Linked DNA regions of Homo sapiens: region 2 is linked to region 1. The links are contacts of gene promoters, found by promoter capture Hi-C in human tissues and cell types (Jung and others, 2019). All regions are on one chromosome and are shown on one strand. The core of a region is centred on a gene start or on the middle of the fragment in contact, and the rest is flanking DNA. Distances in the headings are between cores, read along the strand shown.

Region 1 (2,700 bases), core at 21-2,520:
CCACTGGCATCAAATAGCTGATGGGCAGCTACCGCTCGACAGGCTGTTGGAGAAGCAAAGTGAGGAACCTCACAAGGGGTACTTTCATCCTCCAAGAGTACTAGGAAGCTCAAGGCCTTCAGCCGAGCTGCAAATGCAGCTCGCCGTTCCAACAGGGCTTCTGCCCCCTTCCAAAGCAGAGAAAAGCTGCCCCGAGCCACGGCCTCATAGTCCTGGGGAGCAGCCTCGCGAGAGCACTGCACCAAGCAGGCATGGAGGGGCTGAGCAAGGCGGAGTGTGGCCTCTGGGCTTCCTTGTGCAGCAGCATTCCGCAGTAAGACAAAGAGAATTCGTTCCAGGTAGAGGGGAGGACGCTGTGGGGTAGACACTAAGTAGCCATCACAGGCCAGCTCTGCCAGCTCCAGCAGGCTCCCCAGATGCCTAGGGCAAGCTAGCTTAGCAGTCAGCTGCTGGTTGCAAGCCCTCAGGATGGCATCACAAGCTTGTCTCCTCTCAGCATCAGATCGGCTGCTGGGAAAACCAGCTGGAGGGTTGGACAGGAACTCCTAGGAGTAGAGAAAGATATGAATGGGGCTAGCAAAGGCAGGAAAGAGGTAGAGAAAGTAACTAGAAATAGGGTTACTCAGAGAGGGTCGCCTACTTATCCATCTCTTCAAAAGGCAAACACAAAACAGCTCAGTTTGGAAAGCCAGGTGTATCCCGAGCCAGGCAGCACCCCCACCTTCAAGGCGGGCAGCAACTCTTCAGCCTCCTTCTGGCTGCTTAGCAGAGTCCCAAAGTTGACTCTTTTGAAGCTCCTCATGACACCGGAGAGCTAGGGAAAAGGAGACCAATTAGAGAAGATTGTTAATGAAGCTAACTGGAGGAAGGGAAGAGGGCTGAAGGTCGTGGAAGGAGGCAAAGAATCACATCAGAAATTTCATCGGGGAGAAAACCCACGCCAGGACGCCGTGCTCCCGTTATAAAAGGACGATTCCGCTCTTCCTTCCTCCGGGCAGATCCCCGACCGCACTACCACACCACTCGCCGCGCTACCCCAGAGGCCTCGGCCCAGCCCTTCAGCGGCCCGGGGCAGTCCCAAGGCCTCCCGACACTCCCTCCAGGAGCCACCCACGCCTCTCCTCGCGTCAGCGCTGGGGATCCCCTTCACTTCAGCACGTACCCACGCTCACGAGTCCCTTCCGGCCTTACCGCCCCAGAGCTCGCCCTCTTTCCTAGGTACAGGACTTAACCGCCTGACCAGTACTCCGCGAGGATCCAAAATGTAACCTTCGTTTTCCGCGCCAGACCCTCCTTTCAAATATCCGCGGCTGCCAATCAGCGGGCGCGGCGCAACGCCGGGCGCGCGGCACGCTGGGAGTTGTAGTTTACCCGCCGCGCTGCGCGCTCCCGCGGCGCCCCGGAGGGTCTTGCTGCTCTGCGCGTTAGGGCCTCTTGGGGGTGCGGGTTTCCCCCTTTTTTCCAGTCAGAGCTCAGTTTCTCAGCTACCTGTCGCTTAGTCGCTATCGGTAATGCCACCCCTTTTCCTCCTTTATCTTCAGAGCTCAGGCAAGAGTTTAAGTTTCAAGAGAAGAGAAATAACAAAAAGAACTTAGGAACTCACGCGGTTTGGGTTACTAGAAAAAAAGGGCTTAGACTTCTACGAATTTTTTTTTTGATAGGGTCTTGCTCTGACACACAGGCTGGAGTGCAGTGGCGTGATCACAGCTCACTGCAGCTTCAAACTCCCGGGCTTAAGTGATCCTCCCACCTCAGCCTCCCAAAGTGCTGACTACGGGCGTGCACCGCCACGCCCAACTTCCTACGAAATTATTTTAAAGATGGTTTTCTAGGGGAACTACAATGAGTACCCGTAGCGACCTCCAGCTCTCTCTCTGCCTTCCAGCCTTACTCCTTCTATTGGTTGTATGAGAAAGACAAGATCTGGTGCTCTTCGATGGGGGAGAGAGGGTAGTGGGGTGGGGTGGGAGTTGTGAGTAGCAGGAAGAACTATGGAAATTCATTCCCTGGGATATTTCACAGTCTTTAATGGCTTATGTTTTTAAGTACTAACCACTTCCCCAAACACAGATTCAGCTGTCTCTTTCCTTCCTCCACCAAAGAATTCAGCTCAAAAGTGGTTATCAGCTTGTCGCTGATGAACTCTACTGGATAACTCATCCTTCTCCATCATCATAGAGCTCTTTTATGAGTTGAGAATCTAGCAGGGAAGATTATTTTTGTAAAAAGAAAGAAAAGAAGGCCGGGCGCGGTGGCTCACGCCTATAATCCCAGCACTTTAGGAGGCCGAGGTGGGTGGATCACTTGAGAACCAGCCTGACCAACATGGTGAAACCCCATCTCTACTAAAAATACAAAAATTAGCTGCTGTGGCATCGGGGGCCTGTAGTCCCAGCTACTTGGGAGGATCGCTTGAACCCGGGAAGCGGAGGTTGCAGTGAGCTGAGATCCCGCCACTGTACTGCAGTCTGGGTGACAGAGCAAGACTCTGTCTCAAAAAAGAAAACCAAAAAAAAGGCCGGGCGCGGTGGCTCACGCCTGTAATCCCAGCACTTTGAGAGACCGAGGCGGGCGGATCACGAGGTCAGGAGATCGAGACAATCCTGGCCAACATGGTGAAACCCCGTCTCTACTAAAAATACAAAAAATTAGCCGGGCGTGGTTGCAGGCTCCTGTAGTCCCAGCTACTCGGGAGGCTGC
Region 2 (2,754 bases), core at 153-2,652, 74 kb before region 1:
ACTCTGTGTTGCACTCACACTCAATTTTCAGCATCTCAAAAGTTGTTAATCCCTCATACCTCTGAGCCTTTGCATATACTCTTCCCCCTTCCTACAACACTCTTCCTTTTTTTTTTCTTTTAGACAAGGTCTCATTCTGTCACCCAGACTATGTTTTTTTTTTTTTGTATTTTTTGTAGAGATGGGGTTTCGTCATGTTGCCCAGGCTGGTCTCAAACTCCTAGACTCAAGTGATCCACCCACCTCAGCCTCCCAAAGTGCTGGGATTACAGGCATGAGCCACTGCACTGGCACCACTCTTCCTTTTTTTACTTGATAACTCTTATTTGTCCTTCAGTTTCTTTACTTAGTCATGCTGTCTTCCAGGAAGCCTTCCTTAATTCCCCCCCAACACTGGCTTAGATTTACTCTTTTGTCTCCTATAACATCCAGTACTTATTTTTTATTTTATTTTATTTTTATTATTTATTATTTATTTATTTATTTATTTTTTGAGACGGAGTCTCTCTGTGTCACCTAGGCTGGGATGCAGTGGCACAATCTTGGCTCACTGCAACCCCCGCCTCCCAGGTTCAAGCAATTCTCTGCCTCAGCCTCCCAAGTAGCTGGGATTACAGGCATCTGCCACCACATCTGGCTAATTTTTTTGTATTTTTAGTAGAGATGGGGTTTCACCATCTTGGCCAGGCTAGTCTCGAACTCCTGACCTTATGATCTACCCACCTTGGCCTCCTACAGTGTTGGAATTACAGGCGTGAGCCACCACGCCTGGCCCTCCAGTACTTATTCTATCGAGATACTTCCTACTCTTTTGTATTAGTTGCTGGTTAGTTTGTGAGGTGAAGGGATGAGTCTGTCTTGCTTGTTATTGCATGCCTAAGTCTAGCCCAGTGTGCTTAGCACAAAGTAGGTGCTTTCTGAACATTTGTTGAATGAAAGAATGTTCTTTAAGTTCATTCCACATTTCAAAAATCTGGGCTCCGAGGAAGAATGCAGCAGGCCAGAGAAAGCGGGGAGACGTGTGTATTTAGGAATTTTTTTTTTTTTAAATGGAGTCTCGCTTGTCTTCCAGGCTGGAGTGCAGTGGCACAATCTCGGCTCACTGCAATCTCTGCCTTCTGGGTTCAAGTGATTCTCCTACCTCAGCCTCCAGAGTAGCTGGGATTACAGGCACGCGCCACCACACCCAGCTAATTTTTGTATTTTTAGTAGAGACAGGGTTTGTTTGTTTGTTTTTTGTTTTTTTTTTTGAGACGGAGTCTCGCTCTGTCGCCCAGGCTGGGGTGCAGTGGCGCGATCTCGGCTCACTGCAAGCTCCACCTCCCGGTCACGCCATTCTTCTGCCTCAGCCTACCAAGTAGCTGGGACTACAGGCGCCCGCCACCACGCCCGGCTAATTTTTTGTATTTTTAGTAGAGACAGGGTTTCACCATGTTAGCCAGGATGGTCTCGATCTCCTGACCTCGTGATCCGCCCTCCTCAGCCTCTCAAAGTGCTGGGATTACAGGCATGAGCCACCTCGGCCAGCCTGAGACAGGGTTTTGCCATGTTGGCCACGCTAGTCTCAAACTTCTGACCTCAGGTGATCCACCCACCTCGGCCTCCCAAAGTGCTGGGATTACAGGTGTGAGCCACCTCACCAGGCCTGTATTTAGGATTTTGAAGGACCATTCCCTTGAGTTGCTCAGCCTCACTCCTAGGGATGATGTGATCAGAACTCCATCACCCCAACTTCTTCTTATGAAAGACACTAGTATATTTCATGGATCAGATTCTAGGGTATCGTTTTTACAAAGGGTCATTTTCTAGAGATGACCAGGTTCTTACTTAATTCAATGTTGTCCCATTTTAGACACGGGCATCCAGGACAGGTCCCCTTGTTTCAGAATCAGACCCCAGTCTTCCTCTTCCTTTCATTTTTCACTTTGTCCCCTGCCATCCAGATTCCTTCCTGCTCCTTCCATGGCACTTCTGTTTCTGATTCTGATCTGCCTCTCCTAAAGCTGCTGAATTATATCAGGGCTCAATGTCAATGAAGGAACCCAAGGCTCAGGGAAGAGGGGAGCCAGAGTCAGTCCCAGAGGTCCTGCCTTGCAGCCCTGGTGCTGGAAGAGGGGATGGGGAGACCTAGCAGAGAGGGAGGGAAGTTGTAGTCTGTCTGTACCTGTAAATTTGTGTACATATTTGTTGGGGTGAGGAACTCCTTTTCCAAGCTGTCCTATACAAAGGTTGCCAGCCTCTTAAAAGCTTCCTTTCTACCCTGTGTCCTCAGCTTTGCCTCCTAAAATTGGATCCTCTTCCCCAAGTACCCTGAGCCTAGTGTCAGAAATGCTGGGTCAAGGCACTCGGCAGTCTCTAAATCCTGAGGCCATGAATGGATGTTCCTTCAACCCAAGGAGCAAGCTTTCCTGGTCATCAGCCCCATTGCTCTTAGAGGACCCAACAGACTAGTAGCTGATCCTCAGGGTCTCTCATCTGTATGCCCACCATTTGTTGTTTCCTCTTTGTCTCTCCTGTGTCTTTCTGTTTCCCTGTCTCTGCGTGCCTTCTTCTTTCCTGTCCCCTCTATGTTCTCTGTCGCTGGAGTATCCACTGGAGACAAGGGCTGGGCTGGGTGCATGGGCGGGTAGTGGCCAGACCAGGGGCCCGGGACATGAGCGCAACTTTCCAAGCTTCTCTTCCAGGCCCCTGTGGTTGGGGAGCTCCACAGAGGGAGAGATGAGTCAGCGGGGCCGCAGAGCAGCGGGGGCCTGG

What was found. Contacts are between HindIII fragments. The study calls those that stand out against the background at their distance.
Region 2: a fragment that was not itself captured here is called in contact with the fragment with the promoter of ESPL1 in region 1 in 10 of the 25 tissues and cell types used here (IMR-90 fibroblasts, aorta, bladder and 7 more).

Annotation. Positions count from the first base shown.
Region 1 is chr12:53,266,869-53,269,568 of GRCh38, reverse strand. It overlaps ESPL1 (extra spindle pole bodies like 1, separase), which reads right to left and starts at 1,270. Exons shown (of 31, transcript NM_012291.5): 1 at 1,192-1,270; 2 at 722-814; 3 at 1-545. The coding sequence starts at 802. RefSeq lists enhancers at 824-903, 964-1,333. The HindIII fragment of the contact is 10,197 bases long and covers 85-2,700 here.
Region 2 is chr12:53,340,554-53,343,307 of GRCh38, reverse strand. It overlaps a transcript of SP7 not described here. Among named protein-coding and RNA genes, the nearest start is that of SP7, 5.6 kb to the right of the region's middle. The HindIII fragment of the contact is 4,818 bases long and covers 1-2,754 here.